2 separate regions of the Homo sapiens genome follow, and region 2 is linked to region 1. Evidence: promoter capture Hi-C in human tissues and cell types (Jung and others, 2019). All regions are on one chromosome and are shown on one strand. The core of a region is centred on a gene start or on the middle of the fragment in contact, and the rest is flanking DNA. Distances in the headings are between cores, read along the strand shown.

The links. Contacts are between HindIII fragments. The study calls those that stand out against the background at their distance.
Region 2: a contact is called between a fragment that was not itself captured here and the fragment with the promoter of LURAP1 in region 1, in 3 of the 25 tissues and cell types used here (IMR-90 fibroblasts, aorta and bladder).

What each region holds. Positions count from the first base shown.
Region 1 is chr1:46,201,950-46,208,345 of GRCh38, reverse strand. It overlaps LURAP1 (leucine rich adaptor protein 1), which reads right to left and starts at 5,012. Exons shown (of 2, transcript NM_001013615.3): 1 at 4,722-5,012. The coding sequence starts at 4,919. It also overlaps a transcript of POMGNT1 not described here. RefSeq lists a silencer at 4,972-5,091. The HindIII fragment of the contact is 7,969 bases long and covers 224-6,396 here.
Region 2 is chr1:46,119,232-46,125,029 of GRCh38, reverse strand. All of the region lies in intron 1 of P3R3URF-PIK3R3 (P3R3URF-PIK3R3 readthrough), which reads left to right. All of the region lies in intron 1 of PIK3R3 (phosphoinositide-3-kinase regulatory subunit 3), which reads left to right. Among named protein-coding and RNA genes, the nearest start is that of PIK3R3, 10 kb to the left of the region's middle. The HindIII fragment of the contact is 3,664 bases long and covers 1,931-5,594 here.

The DNA of each region.
Region 1 (6,396 bases), core at 3,763-6,262:
AATCTAGTGGGTAAGATAAGACAATGAAGCAAGCACTTAAAATTCAGTGTGGTTGGCTTGGCATTGTGGCTCAGCCTGCAATCCCAGAACTTCGGGAGGCTGACACAAACGGACTGCTTGAGGCCAGGAGTTTGAGACTGGCCTGGGCAACATAGCAAGACCCTGTCTCTATTAAAAAAATAAATAAGGCTGGTGGGGTGGCTCACACCTGTAATCCCAGCACTTTGGGAGGCCAAAGCAGGCAGATCACTTGAGGCCAGGAGTTCAAGACCAGCCTGGCCAACGTGGTGAAACCCCATCTCTACTAAAAATACAAAAATTAACTAGGCGGGTGCCTGTAATCCCAGCTACTCAGGAAGCTGAGGCAGGAGAATCGCTTGAACCCGGGAGGCAGAGGTTGCAGTGAGCCGAGATCACGCCATTGCACTCCAGCCTGGACGCCAAGAACGAAACTCCGTGTCAAAAAAAATAATGATAATAAATAAATAATTTAAAAATGAAAAGTTCAGGCCAGGTGCAGTGGCTCATGCCTGTAATCCCAGCACTTTGGGAGGCCGAGGCAGGCAGATCACGAGGTCAGGAGATCGAGACCATCCTGGCTAACATGGTGAAACCCCGTCTCTACTAAAAATACAAAAAATTAGCTGGGTGTGTTTGCAGGTGCCTGTAGTCCCAGCTACTCGGGAGGCTGAGGCAGGAGAATGGGCTGAACCCAGGAGGCGGAGCTTGCAGTGAGCCGAGATCGCACCACTGCACTCCAGCCTGGGCGACAGAGCGAGACTCCATCTCAAAAAAAAAAAAGAAAGAAAGAAAGAAAGAAAAGTTCAGTGTGGCAAACGCTAGTGGAAACAACTGCTATACAGAGGACTGTAGATACCTAGAGGGCCATAACCTAACCAGGTCAGGAAATGCTTCCTAGGATAAGGGACATGAGCTGAAAATTTAAGGTTAAGAAGGACTCAGCTAGGATGGGCGCAGTGGCTCACACCTGTAATCCCAGCACTTTGGGAGGCTGAGGCAGAAGATCACTTGAGGTCAGGACTTCGAAACCAGCCTGGCCAACATGGCAAAATCCCGTCTCTACTAAAAATACAAAAGCTAGCTAGGTGTGGTGGCACATGCCCATAGTCCCAGCTACTCAGGAAGCTGAGGCAGGAGAACCGCTTGAGCTTGGAAGGCAGAGGTTGCAGTGAACCGACATTGTACCATTGCACTCCAGCCTGGGTGATGGGAGTGAAACCCTGTGTCAAAAAAAAAAAAATAGAAGGACTCAGCCAGACAAAGAGGTGGAGAGAAGCATTTCAAGCAGAGGAAACAGCCTGTGCCTCCTTCCAATTTGAAATCGACTTTCTAGAGCACAAACCCAACCACATCACTCTACAGTGAAGACTCTTCCAGGAGGCCCTTCCTGGGTTCTACCAGCACTTATCATCCTGTACTAGAAATGTTCTTCTGTCTCCTCCTTCCCTAACCAGACTGTGAGCTCCCTGAGAGCAGATCCTGCCCAATCCATTTCTGGTGCTTGGCCCAGTGCTAAGGAGGTCACATTCAGTTCTGTGATTCTCTTGCCTTTACTATCCTTGACCCCTTTGATGGTTCCCAGGATTCAGGGGTCTGGGTTGTAGTGTGTTGCTGGGAAATAAATCTGAGAGCAGATTCTATAATCCTGTGGCAGTGGGATTCCCTGACTGTGACAGCATCACTCCCAGAATAGAAGAAAGCAAGGTTTTCTTGCCAGAAAAAGAAACACTCTTTTCACACCATCTCTTGAAGAAAATAGAGTATAGGATAAACAGCTCAGGAGAGATGCAGCCTCAGAGGCGACTCCAAACCCAATTCTCCTTCCAAGGAGATTCAGGCTCCCTACTCCTCTCCTTAACATCTACATACCAGACTCTCTGCCCAGCGCTGGGGTCCTGTATGGTTTCCTCATTGCTCAATATAAATCAGGCCCTAGGGTAAAAGCCTGGAAATCCCAGTCCGAGCTCCCAGAGCGGGGACTATCAGAATATTGTTACTATAAAGGTTCTTAACAATCATCTGGTTTCACAGTCCCCATCTCCCTCTACCCCCTCCACCAAAAGGAGGAAAAACTGAGGCCAGGAGAGAGACAGAGTGCTGCTCAAGACCACAAAACGTTTCAGAAGCAGAGCCAAGACTTGAACCCGTGCATTCTTCCTTGCCTAAAGCTTTTTCTCAAACTGCCTCTGTGGAGGTGGGTTGTCATAGCAACAGTTCTTTGGGTGGGAGAACTAAGAAGAAGTTGCCACTGTTTCCCATTCCCACATATCCCAGTCTGGCTTGTTCACTCAACCTTTGAATGGAGGGTAGAGGAAGAAAGCAGGAGGGACGAGGCCTAGAGGCAGGACTGACCTTGGCCTCAAGGGTAGGCCTTCCCCCTTTGTGCAAGGAGAGCTGGGAGAGGAACAATTGAAGGACAGTCCTTAGAGGGCTTGAACCAGTCCTGCCTTCAGTAGCCCGAAGGCAAATCCCTTGCCCCACCCCTTGTCCTTCCTGGGTGCAACCCAGTAGGCAGGGCAGAGCACAAGAAGAGATTAATATTAATAACATCCTGGCCTGAGGAAGGAGAAAAAATAGGATGGGGATCTCTCCTCATTCTGGCCCCAGAAGGCTCCCTCCCTTGTGCCCTTTCTCGGGCAGCCTCAGGCCCCAGGCAAGCTGGGTCAAGAATACAGAGAGACAAAATCAAAAGTTAAATGCAGCCCCTTAAAGTTTACAGATAGTTTCCACCAAGGCAGAGAAGAGAGCCAGAGACTGGGCGTGGCTCTTCCACTGACTCCCTATGTGAGTTCAGAATCTGCAAGCACGTTTTATCTGTAAGATGGGAGAAATGATGACCAGTTTTCTCATTTCAATGACATAAAATGTTCAGACTATCTGGCACAAAGCAGGTCTCAAAGTAAAGATGCAAAGTGCAGTCAGATGATCTGGGTTCAAATCATGGCCCTGCTTTTTGCGTGATGTTGGGCAGTTATTAAACTCCCTGTGCCTCTGTTTTCTTTTCTTTTCTCCTCCCTCCCTCCCTTCCTCCCTTCCTCCCCTTCTTCCCCTTCTTTTTTTGAGACAGGGTCTAGCTCTGAGCTCTGTCACCCAGGCTGGAGTGCAGTGGTGCGATTTCAGCTCACTGCAACCTCCTCTTCCTGGGCTCAAGTGATCCTCCTGCCTCTGCCTCCAGAGTAGCTAGGACTACAGGCACACACCACAACACCCATCTAATTTTTGTATTTTTTGTAGAGACAGGGTCTTGCTTTGTTGCCCAGGCTGGTCTCAAACTCCTGGGCTCAAGCGATCTGCCTGCCTCGGCCTCCCAAAGTGCTGGGATTACAGGCGTGAGCCACCATGCCCACCCTGTGCCTCAGTTTCTCCATCTATAAAATATCACTTAACAGGGTTACTGTGGAGATGAAGAGAGCATCATGTAAAGTGCTCAGCAAGCTGCCTGGCACATGCACTGGGTGAAAGTTTTCAAAGCAAGTAGACAGTCTAGATAGGCTCTTACTAGGCCTTGAGCTAAAGTTTGTACAGTGAGGCAAAGGCAAGCCCCCGCTTAGGTGGGTACAGTCACAGCCTTGCTCTGGAGAATTGGGCACTCACCTCCAACCTTCAAGGCCAAGTGCACACTTGGCATTCAAGTCCTTCTCCCAGGGGGCCTTTCCTGACTGCTCCACCCACCAGACTCTCTTCCCAGCCTCTCAGCTCAGGCGTCGGAGCCCTGGCTGGTCTCAGAGCCCCCATGATTTCCTTCCCCTTCTCCTTCACAGACCAGCTTGGCACAGGCTGGGCACACAGGAAGACTTTAGCTGACGTACTCACTGTGGGCTCCTGGTTGTGAGCCAGGAAGCCGATGGCAATTCCTCAGTTCCCCAGAACTGGCTGCAAAGTAGTGGCAGGTGTAAATCACCCACTTCACCGGAATCAGGGCCCTGGGGAACCTGCCAGGGCCTCGGCTGCCCTTTTGGCTCTGAATCTAGACCAGCAGCAATAGAGAAAGGGGAGGGTTGCTGTTTCCTCTTCTCCCCAAGAATGTACAGATGAGATCCAAATATCCAGTTTACCTGGAAGACTGGCTGGGAGGAGACTGAGTCTGAGGCGAGGGAATCAGCACCAGTGGTGCTGCTACTCTCTGTCCCTGCTATGGGTCTAGGAACTTTCCATTATTTTAAGTAGGGCTGGGGGATGTAGAGGAAACGGAGAAGGTTTTCAGTGCCCCTGGTCCAGGTAGTTTTCAGCAGATAGGCCCCTTTACCCACTTCTTTTCTGTGCGGAACACTGCGGCCTCACAGGAACTTAAACCCTTTCCCGGTTAGCAGAAGGAGAAAAAACCGGTTGCCTTACAACGGGGACTGGCGGGGAATAGGTGGCCCATACAGGCGGGGGGAATTTGTGCTGCGTTGGGTTCTCAGTACTTCCCAGTCCTCATCTCTCTCCTCCCAATTATTTGGCAGGAATAACTTCCAAAACCCACTGCTCCCAACCCAAGTCCTCAGGACCATCAACACCCCACTCACTCTTGGGGGACAAGTAATGGACGTCACTCCATCTCCACCCCAGCGTTTACGGATTGATCTGGGAGGGATTCTGAGCAGTTAGGTGGAGAGTTTTAACTACCTCCTCTCCAGCTTAACTCTGGGAGCATGAGTTCGTCCCTCCCGGCCCTACACTAGGGACTCGTCCCCTTGGCCCATGGATTCAGCACTCACCAGCTCCATCTTCAGCGCCATGATCTTGTCCCCCAAGTCGTGGCCGGTGCTAGACGCCCCTGGGAGCAGCAGGGCGCCAGAGGTTCCCAGCTCACACTCGCCTCGCAGCCCGCGGAGCAGCCCTTCAGGGGTCTTCCTGCCCACCTTACCCTCCACATCCCGCAGGTCAGGCGTCTGGGACTCCACGGTCCCCTCCATGCGGGCCCAAGCCTGAAAAGGGCTGGGCGACCGGACGCCGGGGACCGGCTCCCGGGGGTCCTCCCTTCGCCGCTGCTAAAGCGGAGCAAAACCGGTGGGTCCCCGCCCGCGCGGCGCGGGGGCGGGAGGAGGGCGCCGTAACACTCAGAAAAGCCGCGCAGCACCGTCTGTGGATGTATTCGAGTGCTGCGCACACAACCTCTGGCCCTGGATTGCGTGGGGCTGGGCGATTCTGGAGTTGGACCTGAAAGAGCACTCGGAGACCTCAGCGCCTTCGCCCCACCCTGGCACTGAATCCAGCCAGGCACACAGCAGGCGCCCAATACATGTTTGCAGAATGAAGTCTAAGCAGCTTCAGTCAGAGATGTGGGAGTTTAAGGAACAGCGGTAACAGAGAGCTGCAGAGGGCTTGGAAGTCTTCCTGGAGCAGAGGAATTGGGTATAAAACGATGACTGGATTTTAGCTAGACACACACACACACACACACACACACACACACACACACCACCCCCCCCCCCCAGGGGCTAGAATTCAGGCTAACGGAGTAGAAAAGGGCAACCAGTACTGAAGCTGAAGAGGTCCACGTTGGGCTTACAAGCAAGATGCTCCTTAAGCTTGACTGTGCGTATGAATTATCTGCGGATCTTGTTAAAATGTAGGTTCTGATTTTGTAAATCTGGGGTGGGGCTTGAGATCCTGCATTTTTTTTTTTTTTTTTTTTTTTTTTTTGAGACAGAGTCTCGCTCTGTCGCCCAGGATGTAGCGTGGTGGCGCGATCTTGGCTCACTACAAACCTCTGCCTCCCTGGGTTCAAGCAATTCTCCTGCCTCTGCCTCCTGAGTAGCTGGGATTACAGGCATGCGCCACCATGCCCAGCTAATATTTTTGTATTTTTAGTAGAGACAGGGTTTCACCATGTTGGCCAGGCTGGTCTTGAACTCCTGACTTCAAGTGATCCGCCTGCCTTGGCCTCCCAAAGTGCTGGGATTACAGGTGTGAGCCACTGCGCCCAGCCAAGATCCTGCATTTCTAATAAGCTCCCAGGTGATGGCCATGCTGCTGGTCCACACTTCAAGTAATAAGGGACCACACTTTGAGTAACAAGGTTACAGAAAATGGTTCTGAGATGTTTGGGTTTTATTTAACAGGTAATGAACAGCCATGAAAACTCTGGTTTGTTTAGGCTTTTAATTCAAGTAATTCCAGCCCATGGTTGCAGAAGGATTTACAATGAGAAGATAGTTACCCCTACCCTACCCTTTCACACCTCTAGGCCCACTCCCAATTGGCAAAAAATAACTTTTAGTTTTTTTTTTTCTTTTGGTGTTCATACCCATAACGTTATTGTTTAGAGTTAACTAAAAGTGGTTGCCAATTGGGAGTGGGCCTAGAGGTGTGAAAGGGTAGGGTAGGAGTAACTATCCTCTTATTGTAAATCCTACCACTATTTTTTCTTTTTTAGAGACAGGGTCTTCC
Region 2 (5,798 bases), core at 2,513-5,012, 82 kb after region 1:
ACTCCTGTGTTCAGGCAATTCTCCTGCCTCAGCCTCCCGAGTAGCTGGGATTACAGGTGTGTACCACCACACCCAGCTTATTTTTCGTATTTTAAGTAGAGACGGGGTTTCACCATGTTGGCCAGACTGGTCTCAAACTCCTGACCTCAGGCAATCCACCCGCCTCGGCCTCCCAAAGTGCTAGGATTACAGGTGTGAGCCACCACGCCCGGCCTTTTTTTTTTTTTTTTTTTGAAAAAGAGTTTCACCCTTATTGCCCAGGCTGGAGTGCAATGGTGCGAGCTCGGCTCACCGCAACCTCCGCCTCCTGGGTTCCAGCGATTCTCCTGCCTCAGGCTCCCAAGTAGCTGGGATTACAGGCATGTGCCACCACGCCCAGCTGATTTTGTATTTTTAGTAGAGATGGGGTTTCTCCATGTTGGTCAGGCTGGTCTCGAACTCCCAACCTCAGGTGGTCTTCCCGCCTCGGCCTCCCAAAGTGCTGGGATTACAGGTGTGAGCCACTGCACCCAGCTGATCATGAATACTTTTATATTTTTCTTAGAATGTAGAAAAGATAGGACGTGTTTATGATTGCCATATTTAACAAGATAGGTAGAAAAATATAAATGTATCTATGTGATATGATATAATTTTTTATTGGTATTAAAGGGGGAGACAGCCTGAGTGTAGTAGAAAGAACACAGGCTTTGGAAATAGATGACATAGATTACAAAACTAGCTTTGCTTCTTATCCTGCCCAGAGAAAACCTCTCTGTGCATCTGTTTTCTGTAAAATTGAACTCTTACCTTTGTAGAGTTGTGGGGATTAAATGTACCATATCAATATCTAGTATAGTATTTGACATATATTGTGTACCAAATAAGTGTAGCTTGTATTTAGAGCTTCTTATTGAAAACATGTAATTATCCCATGTCTACCTCTTTGGGTACTCTTGCAGTCAAAACCTTTGAGCTATTTTGCCCCATTCTTTTCTTCCTTCCCAGTGTTTACTGGGGCCACATTTTATCCATTTTGGGTTTTGGAATTGTTCTCTAGGGTCTTTTCTAGTTATAACGTTTCATGAGTCTATGGAAATGTCAACCCAAGTCATCTTTTCCTTTTAGTTTCTATTGCCTCTTGTCCAGTTCCTCAATACCTCACCTTAGAAATGATTTGTAATGAAGGTAATAGTTGCTAACATTTGTTGAAGAAATTATTATAGTCCAAGCACTATGTTAAATGCTTTTATATGTATTCTTTTAGCCACACAACAACCTTATAAAATTGGCATTGTTATTATCCCACTCTACAGACAGGAAACTGAGACTTAGGTTTAGTAACTTACCAAGTAGCAGAGCAGGTCCATCTGCCTAACTAAAGCCCAGGTTCTTAACCAGTACCTCTAAACTGGTTGCTCTGTTTCCGATTTCTTCTACCCCTCACTATAAGTTTGTCCCAAATTCTTCAGACAGGTTAGTTCTACTGAAATGTTATTTTCATTGTTTTACTGTTCTTTTCAAAAATAATCAGCTCTTCATTTCTTTTAAGTAGAGATAATATTCTTAAACTTGGTATACATAGTCTTTAGTAATATGGCACCTAACTTACATATTTATAACTTTATTACTAATTTTCTATTCATACTTCTAGTCGAATTCCTTCTAGCCCAATACCCTGATTGCTCATTCCTATCTCAAGCTTTTGCTTAAGCTGCTTCCTATGTAGAATATGCCCGTCTCACCTCCATCTTTAAATCAAGAGCCTGTCTGCGTCCCCTTTCCTTCTTAAAACTTTCTCCAAAAATTCTAGCACTGTACCCTTTTATATGTAGGGCTGTCTCTGTTATTTTGACTTGGAATCATGTGTTATATTATGATAATTATTTCATGAATATAATTCACCTCCCAAACAAGATAAGTTTCTTGAGGTCAGGCTGTTGTATTTCCTTCATATCTTTTTTTCTTTTTTCTTTTTTTGAGACAGGGTCTCATTTTGTCACTGAGGGGTGCAGTGGCTCACTGCAGCCTAAACTCTTGGGCTCAGGTGATCCTCCCACCTTAGCCTCCTGAGTAACTGGGACTACAGTCATGTGTCACCATGCCCAGCTTGTATCTTTTTTCCCTAAACATCCAGTGCCCAAGTATTTTGTTAAATTTTAGGCCCATGGATCCAACTAGCTTCATTTTGTGACTTAAGCTTTAAAATGTTAATATTATTTATTATCAGCATGTGACCTCTAAACTTATGAAGATAATTGGCTGGGCACTTATTGTAACAAAGGGAATAATGAAAAAAAATGCAATACTTAATGTTATTAGCAAGATTTATATAGCTCTGAGTAAAATTGTGTTTGAAACTTTGAACAATTAGAAATGAATAGGCCGGGCGCGGTGGCTCACACCTGTAATCCCAGCACTTTGAGGTGCCGAGGTGGGTGGATCACTTGAGGTCAGGAGTTCGAGACCAGCCTGGCCAACATGGTGAAACCCTATCTCTACTAAAAATAAAAAAATTAGCCAGGCGTGGTGGCGCGCCTGTAGTCCCAGCTAGTCAGGAGGCTGAGGCAGGAGAATCGCTTGATCCCTGGAGGCAGAGGTTGCAGCAAGCTGAGATCGCGCCACTGCACTCCAGCCTGGGTGACAGAGCGAGACTCTGTCTCAAAAAAGAAATGAGTAGTAAGTTTTTCACAGTGTATTAGGTTAGTTTTAAATAACACAGGGCCAAACGGAGAGTTTTAAGTTATCCAGTGTGTTATTATACCACTTAATTTTACTGTGTGTAAGACTTGACTTTTAACAAGTAAAGTGAGCCATCAAGCCTTATTAAAGATCAATTTCCACATTGCTTGCCCATATATGTTGTATGTATTGTTCCTTGTGCATATTTGTAAATTCACATAAAGTAAAAGGGTTATCTTATTGTTTTCTTTTTCTTTTATTTATTTATTTTATTTTATTTTATTTTATTTTTGAGATGGAGTCTCGCTCTGTTGCCCAGGCTGGAGTGCATTGGCATGATCACAAGTTACTGTAGCCTTCCCACCTCAGCCTCCCAAGTATCTGGGGCTACAGGCATGCACCACCACACCTGGCTAATTTTTAAAGTTCATTATTTTAATAAAAGAGGCAGTAGGCTACGTCCAGCCTGCCAAATCATACCATTTTGCATGTCGCATATCAGTATGAAAACTGCCCTATGAGTTGGTATTGATGAGCCAACACAAAGCCAAAGTCAATACCATCTACCCTTATCCATACTTGGACTTCCTGTTTCATGTTCTGTTTGTGGGCCAGATTGCCTATCCTTACCTGAGGATATGTAACAACAAATCCAGAGCATGCAACTGTGTAATCTTAAATATTGTGATAATTTTTATTTATTAACTATTTATTTTTAAATATTTATTATTTTTTAAATAGAGGTAGAGTCTTTCCAGGTTGCCCAAGCTTGTCTCGAACTCCTGGGCTCAAGCAATCCTCCCACCGCAGCCTCCCAAAATGCTGGGATTACAGGTGTGAGCCACCGTGCCCAACCCGTATTTATTTATAAACTTAAGAAAAATTCAATTATGAATCAAAATTAAAAATCTGAATGAAAATTGCTCTGAAAAAGGTCTTGCTGAAAGGAATTGTTGTGCTGGAAATATATTGCTTTAGATTCTGTTCTTACATATGTATTAAGCTTTTTTTTCCATAGAGGATAGAGTGACCTTTTTACAACAGGGTCACTCAATATGGTCTAATTTATGTTGAACTTCTAATAGACATTTATAGAATTAACCACAACCTTTTTTTCTGATATTAGTTCTGGGATGTATTTTATAAAAAGTGTTTAATTCATATGTTTTCAGCTGCAAGCAACAGAACTAATTCAAAATGGCTTTAAAAATAATAAATTTTATCTTCTCATTTAATAGAGTTAGTTGATTTCAGTAGTTCAACAATGTCAGTATAAACCCATATTTTGCTTAGCCATATATTGCTCAATTCTGCCATCCTTGGGACTGGCTTCATCCTCAGGCTAGTAGCAAAATGGTTGCGGTGATTCCAGGCATCATATCATATCCATAAATAACAACTTCCAAAAGAAGAGGAAAAGTATCTCTTCCTGTGCCACTGTTTTTGGATAGAGGAAACTTTCTACAAAAACCTCTAGCAAACTTCTTTCCCATCTTTTTGGCCAGAATTGGGTCATAGGCTAGTTCCTGAACCAGTCACCAGTAAATAACCCTTAGGTTAATCACGTTTCTCAATCTGGAATGGTGTTGGCTTCTACTGAGGTATATGGTTGTATTGGGGAGAGATTCTGTTAAAGAGGAAGAGGGAGAGAATTGATGCTAGGAAAGTAATTTGGAAAACCATAACTCTCTTCAGTGTTATTGTCTTTGTCAATAAACAGTATTAGCAAGTTATTTTTTACTTTTTCAAAGTTAAAATCTAGCTGTGGGAAATGCATTCTCATTTTCTATTTTTTTTGAGACGGAGGCTCCCTCTGTCGCCAGGCTGGAATGCAGTGGCACGATCTCAGCTCATTGCAACCTCCACCTCCCGGGTTCAAGCGATTCTCCTGCCTCAGCCTCCTGAGTAGCTGGGATTACAGGCGCCCACCACCACGCCTGGCTAATTTTGTCTTTAGTAGAGATGTGGTTTCACCATGTTGGTCAGGATGGTCTCGATCTCTTGACCTTGTGATCCACCCACCTTGGCCTCCCAAAGTGCTGGGATTACAGGCGTGAGCCACCGCGCCCAGCCACATTTTCATTTTCTAAGTTGGACTTCATAGGGTCACATAGTATTGAGTTAATATAAGACAGACCTTTTTCTATCTTGTTGGTTGCTTACTAGAAGATGAGGAAGCTAACATCTCTGGTTTACAGTTAACTAATTTGAGGAATATAGGCATTGGAATAGTGTTAGTGTAGCAAGTAAATGAGTGTAAGAGAACATTTTGCAAAACTATACACTTAAAATTCTAAAGTTCAGTAAATTAAGTAAACTTGGGACCTGTGGAATGATTTATGATTTGAAAGCTAGCCTGAAAAATTAGGAGCCGTCCAGACTGGGCAACATGAAGAAACCTCGTCTTTACAAAAAATACAAAAATTAGCTGTGCATGGTGGTGCATTCTTATAGTCCCAGCTACTTGGGAGGCTGAGGTGGGAGGATCACTTGAGCCCTGGAAGTCGAGGCTGCGCTGAGCTGTGATTATACCACTGTACTCCAGCCTGGGTGACAGAGCGAGACCCTGTCTCAAAAAAAAAAAAAAAAAAAAAATTAGGAGTTGGTTACAATGGCACATACCTGTAGTCTCAGCTACTTACAAGGCCAAGGTGGAGTTTTGCTTGAGACCAAGAGTTGGAGATCAGCCTGGGCAGCATAGTGAGGCTATCTCAAAAAAAACAAAAAAATGGAATACTACTTTAAAGTAACCTGTAGATTATATCTTTCAATTAAAATGTATGATGTGCCTAAGTATTGATTTTTCTCAGTATGTTAGAAATCTAGAGGCAGTATAGTGGAGTAGTTAAGAGAGGGGTCTCTGGAATCAGAACGCCTGAGTTCAGATTGTGCCTCTGCCACTTCTTAACATGTGTCCTTTGGCAATTTACTTACCTTTTCTGTGTTGTGGTTTCCTCACCCAAAAAGTAGGGTGATAATGGTCATTCAATAGGGTTATGAGGATTTAGTAGATTAATAACTGTCAAGTACTTAGTGTGGTACCTAGAACATAGTAAACACCTGTAAATTTTTTTTGTTTGTGTGTTAATTCATGTTTTTCAACAAATATTTGACTGCCAGGCACTATTCTAAGTGTA